Regions from separate parts of the Homo sapiens genome. Here region 1 is linked to region 2. The links are contacts of gene promoters, found by promoter capture Hi-C in human tissues and cell types (Jung and others, 2019). All regions are on one chromosome and are shown on one strand. Each heading gives the region's core, a stretch centred on a gene start or on the middle of the fragment in contact. The rest is flanking DNA. Distances are from core to core; before and after follow the strand shown.

The links. The method cuts DNA at HindIII sites, captures the fragments that hold promoters and counts their contacts. A contact is called where the count stands out against the background at its distance.
Region 1: a contact is called between a fragment that was not itself captured here and the fragment with the promoter of AFF3 in region 2, in 3 of the 25 tissues and cell types used here (aorta, dorsolateral prefrontal cortex and mesenchymal stem cells).

Annotation. Positions count from the first base shown.
Region 1 is chr2:99,622,643-99,628,585 of GRCh38, forward strand. The region is part of intron 13 of AFF3 (ALF transcription elongation factor 3); the gene reads right to left. Among named protein-coding and RNA genes, the nearest start is that of REV1, 140 kb to the left of the region's middle. The HindIII fragment of the contact is 4,551 bases long and covers 1-4,518 here.
Region 2 is chr2:100,139,431-100,145,360 of GRCh38, forward strand. AFF3 (ALF transcription elongation factor 3) reads right to left here and starts at 3,160. Exons shown (of 25, transcript NM_001386135.1): 1 at 3,054-3,160. The HindIII fragment of the contact is 13,656 bases long and covers 1-5,930 here.

The DNA of each region.
Region 1 (5,943 bases), core at 993-3,492, 520 kb before region 2:
AAGAATCACCACATCACAGAACAGGCCAATAAAACTCTCAGCTCAGCCCAGCCTGATTGGATGGAGTCCTCCCAGCAGGTTCTGAATGACCTGTGCATCAGTGCTGGAGGACAAGGCAGGCCTGCCGGGCTGCAGCCCATTCTTTCATTGAACTCAGACCATGGGGTCAGTGGATGCAGAGTCAGGCCCTGGCTGGGCATGGGCACAGGCAGGACGACTCAGACATGTACTGGAGACAGTCCTTGCCGACAGGGAGCTCCCGGTGGAAGCTCTGGTTCATGTCTTTGATCAGAATGACTCTGCTTCAAACAAAGGTAGCCTTGCTTTTTTCCACTGCAGAAAAGATGAGTGAGAGAGTTCCCAGGAGACTTTTGGTGGTCGAAGGGAGAGAGGACAGGAGGAAGGTATTTAGTCAGACTTCAGAGCACACCTGGCAGCACGTGCCTCCGTTAACTCCAAGGAGCAAAATGCATTTGGGACCTCCAATTTTTTTTGTTGACCTCTGGTTCTTTTTTTTTTTTTTTTTTTAACTTATAAGATAGGCCTTTCCTGATGCCAAATAAGGGCAATGATCAGCTTCCCCATTCCTGGAGCCAGGACCTGCCACATCATTTGCAGTGCAAAATGCAAATGAGAGCCCCTTGTTCAAAGAGCAAGATAAAAGTGCCATCCTAGGCGCTCAAAATACAAAGGTTCCTCCTTTCTTCTATGGTCTGTCAATTGGTCAAGGCATTTTAATTTGCTACTTAATGTCATGCTTGCTGGGCACTGGAATACTCATGCGGTGAGTGTAGGATCCCACGGGTATCTGGAGGCTCGCCCTGCAATTTAGCATGTGCAAGGAGCTCCCCACCTCTGCCAGCCCAGGATGGGCGTGTGATGCCCTGGCTGGGGTGAGTGAGGTTGAGCCAGGTATCTCTGTGTCTCATGGGCCCAACCGACACGGGAGAGAAGACAATCCCCATGGGGACTGCAACCTTTGAACTGGGACACATGAGGCCTCTGGGTTAGGGTCGGGGAGAGGCTCGTCCCCCTGCCCAGCCACCCACTGCATGTGCCCTTGTGCTGTCAGCTTGGGGCAAAACGCGGGTGCCATGTCTGGGCCTGTGAGCCCTGTCCTGACCTGGCATGCACCCATGCCCTCCTGGGGTGCTGGGTAGCAGCAGTTACTGTGTAGGGTGGAACAGGCAAGGCCAGGTGGGGCCAGGGCAGCAGGCTGGAGCTGGCAGCTGAGAGGGACCCATGGGAGCCAAGGCTCTGAGCCCAGGCAGATGCTCCATCATCCCATTGGACTTCACTTAAAAAACACGAATTCAAAGATAAAGTTATTAAGGATTTCAATATGCCAACCACAGAGCATTAAACTAAGTAAGAGGCCATCGGCGTACAGGGCCCTGGGAGGCTGCACAGTTCACTGCTCCTGCCTGGAGCCACCGGGTTGCTTCTACCTTTGTCTTCCTCTAAAAGAAAATGCCCAAGCCACAGCTACCTCCAAGGTTCTGGGGATTGTTGCCTTCTGAAGGCATCCAGTTCCTGCCAATCATCTACCCAGCTACCTATCTGCTTGAATTCCCCTAGGTGCTTGCTAGTAGAAAGGTGGAAGAAAATTTCCCAGACTATCTCCAGGTAACCAAGGAGGTGACAGTTTGGGAAGCTTACAGAAAGCTCCATGGAGACAGAATTTTAAATAAGCTGGAGTCCCATGTAATTAAAATAATTTTGAATTAAAACTACCACTTCAGTAATTGCTTTTATATTATAATATTTACTACCATTGCCATTGTGTAACTTACCTCATTAGCTACTGTTGGAGAAAAGTCAGTCAATGAATAATTAATAGGATGTGATAACCAAGGGAGTAATGGTGTTTAAAAACAGAGCTTGAAAGAAAGTGTCACCCACACGCAGCCCCATTAATAAGAGCCTCGCAGTCCAATGCCACTTGCAAGGAGGTGAGGCCCTGGCCCGTTGCCTCCTGTTATTAGAGGTCAATAGAAAAATCTCCTCAGCCTCATCACAGACGTGCACATAGGTCAGGAATTCTCCTTAATGGCAGCAAGAAAAAGCTTCCACTTTATCAAAGCAGACAGTCCTTGGCACAAGTAACTCAGCAAAAATACAAATTAGAAATAGCACCCAAAGGCCAGCCAGGTGCTGAGGCTGCCAGCCATGCTTCAGAGAAAGTGGCAGTCTCGTGTCTGCCCTCCGGAGACGAAGGCGGGAGGGCAGCAAGTGGGAGCTCCGCCAGATGCCTCCGACCTGCATACGGCTCCACCCTACCGATTTCCAAACAGGCCCAGTGCTTGCAGCAAGCACCACACACACTTGACACACACAAGATACAGTCTCTCGTGGAAAATCTGGAGGAACGGTTGTGCACAGCTCCTGCTGGAAGTGAGATGCTTATTCTACTGCTTGGAAAGAGAGGAGATTCATTTTCAAGGAAGCTTTCTTGAAGGGCGAGATAGAATTTTGACTTAAGTTGCATCCACTGTTTGTATATAGATGGTCTTTCAAGATCCTGACATTTTCTTATGCAATTTCCAAGAAAGATCAAATACTTTTAGAGAATACTTTTTTCTTAACGGTCTTTCAATCAAAATATCGTTTGCGTAGGGTTGCCAGGCAAAATACAGGGCACCCCGTGAAATTTGAATTTCAGATAAACAATGAAAAATATGCAATATTAGGGACACATTTAGACTACAGAATTATTCATTGTTCCTGGATTTTTACTTGCTGAATCTGGCAACCTTAAGTTTGCAATCTTTCTTATCCATCCAACATAAAGATGTGTGGTGCTGAGCATGTCTGGTGCTGAGCACAGAGAGGGCCTTTCTTGGAGGGGTTGTGTATGGATTACTTAAGGAAGATAAATGACACCTGGAAACAGCATCAACATTAAACCATGTGCAGGAGATTTCCTGCTTGAAATTTTGCAAAGTGTCTTCTGGGTTGTATGACAGGATACTAGACGAAATGACAAGCGAGAGGATTAATTATAATTAATCACAGAAGGAAAGTTTGAGGGCCTGGGAATTCATATTTCAGGTTGCCAAAGCTATTTAAAAAGCAATGTAATACAACAGTTGTAATGGAAGAACAGTCAGAAGATAAAAGTAAAGCACTGATAAAATATCATATGAGTCTATTTCAAAGTTGCAAAATTCAAGGTTAAAATATTTCTCTTTAGAGCTTTTGAATTAGTTGAAGGGGATGAAAGGCAAGCTTTATGTAACCACTTTTCCAGTGAAATAAAACCTGTTTACATCTTGGTGACTGAAACACCTTCCAGCTAATTTAGAATTCTCAAGTGGCCACATGAAAAGATTAGAATTTCTATAAAAAGAAATGTCCCAGTTGCGTTCCAGTTCAGGTATAGAGAACGCAGTTACTGAAGGGTCTTCAGTTCATCTGAGCTAGCTGAGTGCCACCCATCGGAAGCTGCTGCGTTTGGACACTAGAACATTAGAAGATGTTATTTTATTCAACAGAACCAGCTTGGTAGAAATGTTGGAATTTAATAAAGACAAGCTCTCTTTGTGGTGTTTTACTGAAAGAACACAGTATCTGCAAACCTAGAGTCCATTTCCCAAGCTCACGTTTGTTGTTGCCAGTTTTATTTTTACACTACAGAAAAGGTAGAAAATTCCTTTGGAAAGTCTGCCTCCCTCCCTTCCTTCCTTCCTTCCCTCCTCTCTCTTTCCTTCCTTCCTTCCTCTTTCCTCCCTTCCTTCCTCCCTCCCTTCTTCCTCCCTTCCCTTCCCTCCCCTCCCTTTCTCTCTCCTCCCTCCCTCTCCTTCCCTTCCCCTTCCTTCCTTCCTCCCTCCCTCCCTCTCCTTCTCTTCCCCTTCCTTCCCTTCCCTTTCCCCTTCCTCTTCCTTCCTTCCTCCCTCCCTTCTCCCTTCTCCCTCCCCTCCCCTCCCCTCTCCTTTCCTTTCTTTCACCTTTAAGGTCAGGGGTACATGTGCAGGTTTGTTATACAGGTAAACTTATGTCACCGGGTTTGATGTGCAGATTATTTTGTCACCCAGGTGTTAAGCCTGTTATCCATTAGTTATTGTTTCTGACTATCTCCCTCCTCCCAGCCTCCATCAACTGACAGGCCCCAGTGTCTGTTGTTCTCCTCTATGTGTCCATGTGTTTTCATCGTTTAGCTTTCACTTGTAAGTGAGAACATACTGTAGTTAGTTTCCTTTCCTGTGTTCGTTTGCTAAGGATAATGGATTCCTGCTACATCCATGTTCCTGCAAGGAACATGATTTGTTCTTTTTTATGGCCGCATAGTAGCATAGTATTCCATGGTGTGTATGTACCATATTTTCTTTATCCAGTCCACCACTGCTGGGCATCTGGGTTGATTCCATGTCTCTGCTATTGTGAATAGTGCTGCAATGAATATATGCATACATGTGTCTTATAATATGATTTATATTCCTTTGGGTATATATCCAGTAATGGAATTGCTGGGTTGAACAGTTCTGTTTTTAGGTCTTCGAGGAATCACCAGTGTTTTCCACAATGGCTGAAATAAAATTTACATTCCCACCAACAGTGTATAACGTTCCTTTTTCTCCACAACCTCGCTAACATCTGTTTTTTTTTGACTTTTAAATAATAGCCATTCTGATTGGTGTGAGATGGTATCTCAGTGTCGTTTTGATTTGCATTTCTCTAATGATCAGTGATGTTGAGCTTTTTTTCATATGCTTGTTGGCCGCATGTATGTCTTCTTTTGTAAAGTGTCTGACCATGTCCTTTGCCTACTTTTTAATAGGGTTGTTTTTTTCTTGTAAATTTGTTTAAGTTCCTTAGAAATGCTGGATATTAGAGCTTTGTCAGATGCATAGTTTGCAAAAATGTTCTCCCATTATGAAGGTTGTCTGTTTACTCTGTTGATGGTTTCTTTTGCTGTGCAGAAGCTCTTTAGTTTAATTGGATCCCATGTGTCAATTTTTGCTTTTATTGCAATTGCTTTTGGCATCTTTGTCATGAAATCTTTGCCCATTCATATGACCAGAATATTGCCTACGTTGTCTTCCAGGGTTTTTATAGTTTTGGGGTTTTATACTTAAGTCTTTAATCTATCTCGAGTTGATTTTTGTAAATGGTATAAGGAAGGGGTCCAATTTCAATCTTCTGCATATGGCTACCCAGTTTTCCCAGCATTATTTATTAAATAGGGAATCCTTTCCCCATTGCTTCTTTTGTCAAAGATCAGATGGTTATAGGTGTATGGCCTTTTTTCTGGGCTCTCTATTCTGTTCCATTGGTCTATGTGTCTGTTTTTGTACCAGTACCCATGTTGTTTTGGTTACCATAGCCCTGTAGTATAGTTTGAAGTTGGGTAGTACGATGCCTCCAGCTTTTTGTTCTTTTTGCTTAGGATTGCCTTGGCTACTAGGGCTCTTTTTTGGTTTCATATGAACTTTAAAATAGTTTATTTCTAATTCTTTGAAGAATGTCAATGGTAGTTTAATGGGAATAACACTGAATCTGTAAATTTCTTTGGGCAGTATGGCCATTTTCATGACATTGATTCTTCCTATCCAAAAGCATAAAATGTTTATTCATTTGTGTCCTCTCTGATTTCCTTGGGCAGTGGTTTGTAGTTCTCTTTGAAGAGGTCCTTCACTTCCCTTGTTAGCTGTATTCCTAGGCATTTTATTCTTTTTGTGACAATTGTGAATGGGAGTTCATGATTTGGCTCTCTGCTTGCCTATTGTTGGTGTATAGGAATACTAGTGATTTTTGCATGTTGATTTTATATCCTGAGACTTTGCTGAAGTTGCTCATCAGCTTAAGAAGCTTTTGAACTGAGACAATGGGGGTTTTCTAGATACAGGATCGTGTCATCTGCAAACAAAGATAATTTGACTTCCTCTCTTCCTATTTGAATACCCTTTCTTTCTTTTTTTTTTTCTTTTTTCTTGAGATGGAGTC
Region 2 (5,930 bases), core at 1,910-4,409:
AATCTGTCAACAGGCTATAGGGGAGGAACAGCAATAAATCAAATTGTCGTGTTTATTAGTTATTGCAGGAGTCTAGTTGTCTTGTATTCATTATAACCCCCCATTTTTAGTGCAGATAAAAACTACAAAGAGGAATATCTGTGCAAGATGCTTTTTAATAGGTTTGTATTTGTACACAAACACCTGCTTGTATTTTAATGATGAGAACAATGGTGCCATTTCACTTTGAAAGGAGCATGTATTTTTGGCTGTTTTCTGGATGAAGAATAATGTTTTTAGTTTTTGTCAAAGCTATGTTTTAAAACATTGAGAATCAACTCACTAATAACCAAAAAAAAGGCAAATGAAAGCAGAAATGAGATATGACTTGTTTGTCAGACTTGGAAATACTAAAAGAACAGATAGGATGATTGCACTAAAGGATTTCTAGAACAGTCATTGCAATTTAACTTGTGATATTCAAAAACCGGAAATCAACTAAATTTTCATATATGGGAATGGTTGCACAAATTATGGAACATCAGCTCCAGAGGGTGCAAATGGGTCATTTGAAAGAACAAGTTAAATCATACCTAATGACATGTCATTAAGAACCAACATTATTTATACTTTTCATTTCCATTTAACTTGCCTTTACCGAAGGTGGATTTCAACACGTTTTCCTTACATGACTCGGAAATAATATAACAGCATTTTACGTATGTAGACTCATTGAGCCCTCATAAAATCCTGTGAACTCTGTAGGACAGGACATTACACCCACTTCACAGAAAAAGATGTGGAAGTGCAGAAGATAAAAGTTATTTATGGAAGGGTCCATAGCTGTCAACCTTGATAGGCAAGACATCAGGTCCTTCCTCTGAGTAGTGGTGTAGAAAAAATGGTTGGAATTTAGAAACCAGCATCCAGCTCCTCACCATGCCTTCAGCTTTCTCTGTGACTTTGAACTTGTTTCTTAAACTCTCTGAAACTGGACGTCCTCACTGGTCACGTTTTGTTACTACTTGCTTTGTATTCTGGGTGTGATGGGTGGGGGATTGGGACACAGAATCTGGAGATGGTCAGATCCCAACGCTGCTATTTCCCTGCTCTGCACTCTTAGGCTACCTACCAATCTCTCCTCTAAAATAAGCATAATTGCAATGGCTCAGATACAATAACAAAATGTGTGTAAAATGCCGAGCACCACGTCTCACACCTGAGAGGCACTGAATGCATGTTATATACTATCATTTGGATGTCACCGTTCCATGTGCCTATTTCCTGGTTTGCTGTACAAGATGTGTATGAGTACATGTCATCAAGCCCACAGAGCTCCAGAACATGTTCCTCTCACAAGCAGGCCTCATAGGGAGGGGTGTTCTGTGCTGTTCCTCTTTCCTGCTCACTACTTGTCTGTAGCTACAGTGTAAGGACTGTAATGTCACTGCTCTGGCCTTAAGTGTCACCCCCCAAACCCATTTTACACACACCACCTCCCACCTTTCACCTTTCCCAAACTCTTACCATGTCCCTTCAAGTTTGATGGCTTAATTGTACAAAAGGTAGTGATGATGATGATGATGATGATGACAATGATAACAGCTGCTAATACTTACTGAGCCCTTTCAATGTTCCAGGCACTTGTCTAAGCACTTTACATGTATTAGCTTATTTAATTCTTAAGAGGAAGGGATTACTATCTACTATTGTACTTGTGTTACAGATGTGGGAACTCCGATGCAGAGATGTATAGTGACTTGCCTAAAACCATCATGTTAGAGTGGGAATTTAAACCTTGAAATCTGGAAAATAAGCAATGTATATATTTTTCTATTTTCTAAATGCAAATCAAATATACATATGCATAACACCACTAAACACTAAGTGCAGTTACGCCTAGAACAAGGGAATAGCAGTTGACAGAAACACAACCAAAACTAAGAATATTAAATGTCTGTATTACTTTCACTGTAATCACTTCACTTCAACAGTGAGATGGGATAGCCCTAGGTAAAGGAAGGTGCTCTTGTAGTTAGAACATTCTTAAATTTTGCACCAAGGAACACATGCTTTTAATAATGGCAGAGACAACATTTTTTGATGGATTATTTAGTTTGTACGATCAACATTCAAAGAATGAGTTTACCACCACTTTGTTATTGTAAACACTTGACCTTTAGCTACCTGAATGATCCCCTCTTTGAATAAAAGGAATTATGAAACACATGTGTAGACATATTTCATTTTTATATATGTGAGACTCGAATAGCAAGGAAATCACATATTAGGAAAAAAACCCCTTTGTCTTGCTATTAGTTCTCTTTGGTTTCAAAAATCTGGTCACTGTGTATATTGCATTATATCATATGTGTGTGTACATATATATACACACATAAACACACATACACACAATGTCATGTGTATAAATACATGATGTGTTTATGCACATACACAGACACACACACACAAATACACACATATACAATGTTCCATCCAAGAAATACAAATATAGTGCTGTTAGCCCCTAACAGTGAGGAGGTCATTATTCCAAGTCATTTCTGCAGAAGTGACGGTGGCCTTAGGTGGAACTGCCCATGATCTCTCCTTGCAAGCTCACTCACTGGGGCCATTGACTGGGATCCAGTCTGTGGCCATGTCATGGTTTCTATTTTTGAGGTTATAGCTAATGAGCAACATGAGGTTAAGACACACTTTTCATAAGGCCCCAGCCAGCATCATAAATATGTGTGTGAGCATGTTCACACTCAGGTTATGTCTTCTTTATGTGCACCCTCTACCACACACACACACACACATGCACACGCACACACACTGACGGCTTCAGTGACCAACTTTGGTCACATCCCATCTCTTCCTTCTCAATCCCTCTGGCTGTTCACCAGGGCCTGGACCATCTCGGTGAGGCTGACCAAGAATGCTCCCCCTGCCCTGACCAGCGGAGCATGGGCACAGCTACTTAGAGCGCCACCCTTCAGGACACAAAGTCGGGGCTACCTCTCTTCCAGGCAAGGCATCCTAGAGGGCCCGCACACCCTCCAGTTTGATCTTACCTCTCAGCTCCCGTTCCTTTTCTTTCTCTCCCCAGTAAGTCGTTGAACGTCTTTCTTCTGAGGCTGAGCGTGGAGCTCTCTTCTCGCTGGCGAGCTTTCTGAATGGCACTTTCTGTACAAACAGGAAGAGCATGTGTGGTCACAACCCAAGTGTGCAGGTGTTGATAGAGGATGTGAAAGTGTGGAGGCGAGTGACTAAACCAGATACCCAACCGGCCAACTCTCACTTGTGGCAGGGCCTGGTCTACCAGAAGGCTGGAAGCAGGAACCTGGACTCTACTCTGGGGAGACCAACTGACAAAAGCAGAGGATGGTGGCCCTGGAGGCCAAGGGAGAAGGTCTCTTTGACTCCTGTGCTTTCTAACCCTATGCAGACCCATAAAAGAATCCCAGGAACATTTTGGAATCTCTTAGATATATGATTATCAAGAATGTTGATTTCAATGGGCTGCTTAACTTGTCCAAAGCTCTGCTGGTTTCCCAGGCTGTCTGGGCCTCCAAGAGATCAGGACCAAAGGCTCATCCTGCATTGGAACTGTGACAAGTCTTCCAGACCTTTCTAGAACAAAGCTACACCAGGAAAGAAGAGTCTTAGGCAAGGAATCAGATGTCCTAAGGCTGCTCTACATGACCTACATGATGGGTGTTACCTCCTCATCTCCCATTCAGTCAACCCACGGGCACTGGACTTCCTGCCCGACACCCTTCCCTCTCCCCATTCATGCCTGGAATTATTTTCACTAATGACACCAGGGATTCACTAATGGATGCTTTTTCAGTTCCTGTCCTATTTGTCTCCACTGGCAGTGTTTGACTTCCCTGTAGTGTTGACCATTTCTTTCCTCCCAGAACTTCTGCCTGGGCCGCCATGACTCCATACTCTCCTGGTTTTTGTCAGGCGGTCTCTCACACTGGCAGGCTTCCATTCTTTGGTCTTAATTTTCGCCCTCCTGCAAGCTCCACTCTCCGCCTCATGGTTCCTGTTCTCCATGGGTGGCCTCTTCCCAGCTCCAGATGGAACTTGCCAAGCCCACATCCATAGCATCACACATTTCTGCTGTTCTCCTGGAACATCCCCCAGCACCTCCCGTCAGACTCGCCACAATGAAACCCTGCTCTGTCCTCTACCCCACTCATTACTTACCATGTGGCCTGTGAATTCCCTCCTGCCTTGTCCCAGCTTGCTCCTCAGGTCTCTACCCCCTTCTGAGTTTACCACCTTCTGATCTCTCACTTTGCCTCTGCTAATCTGGCTTCTTCAGGTTTGACCCTCCATTATCCTCATCCAAACAGGCCCGTCCTTATCCTGAGAATGGATACCTAGAAACTTCCCCACCCAGTCCTATCCCAAGCCCTGGGAAATTATCCCAGTATTGTCTGCCTCATGTCCCTGGCAAGGAGAAAACGTTTCTTTATCTTATACCCAAACCAGAAATGGGGAGGCTTCCCACGTTCTTCTCTTTGCTGAATACTCTTCAACCTTCCATCACCAAGCCCTGCCCATTCTACCTCTTCAGTCACTCCTCAGATCCTTCTTCCCGTCCGCATCTCCACAGCCACACCCTCCCTCCATTGCCTCTCATCACTGCCCTAATCCCCAAGGGGTACGTGCACCCAGGGCACACCAGACCGTTCACTGAAGGATGAGAAGAAAGGAATTGAATGTCTATCTACCCACACTTGTCTGGTTTTTGTATTTAATTAAGACTCACATACCATAAAATGAGCCGTTTTAAGATGGGGAATCCTGTGGCATTGAGTACACTCACAATGCTGTGCAGCCACCACCTCCATCGAGTTCCCAGACTTACATCTATTTTTACGTCATGTTTTTAGTGTTTACATTTTGTGTATGTTTCAAGGCATGCAATGTGTGAATACAGTTGTATTGTATATCATTTGTGAATAATCATACATCTGCTCAGAATAGGCGGCAAAGACTTTTTTGCTGAAGAAGATACAAAATTAGAAAAGTGGGGACACGTGACCTCCTAACTCATCTCTCACATGTCAGGCTCTAGAGTGTTTTCCAAACTGCCTCCAAATTTTCTCTGCAAAAGACTACAAAAATGATGACAGTACACTCCCCTCACCCCACGACCAGTCCTTAAACGCTTCAATGGCTCCCTGTCACCCACAGGAAAATCCCAAGGCTCCATCGCTGGGCAGGCGAGATGTTGGATTCAGTGGCCTCTGCCCACTCCCCAATACCATCTCTTGCCATCCTTGATACCACTTCCTTCCTCACCACCCAACAATCCCACCACCACTCATGGTTTCTTGAACTTTCAGGCTGCTTTATGTCACAGCTTTGCACATGCTATTTCCTCTTTCAGGGTGCCTTCACTTCCATTGGCTATCTGGCAGATCCCCATGGATATTAAAAACCCTTCCATCCTGCTCATCTCAAAGCAGAATTCCTCACCTGTGCGGGCTGAAGCCATTGCCTTCATGTTAGATGATACTATGGGCAATTTGATGGTCAGGAGGGTGGGCTCTGCCTCCAGAAAGACCTGGGTTTGGGTTCAGCCTCTATCATTTACTAGCAAGGGTAACTTGGGGATGTTACGTTCAGCTTCCTCGTCTATACGGTACCCACTCATAGAGTGACTGTAGAAATTAAACAACATAGTGTGTGTGCAGGATGTCATAAGTATTCAGTAAGTGGTGGAGATTATCATGATGGTTATTCTGTTTGTTTACCTCACTATTCTGTAAACTGCTTGTAAAATTTATAAATTTCATACCAAGGAGAGCTACTACTTCTAAGGCAGAATGTCTTCATTTTAATTAAAAAGTTGGCCAGGATTGGTGGCTCATGCCTGTAAGCCCAGTGCTTTGGGAGGCTGAGGCAGGAGGATTGCTCGAGGCCAGGAG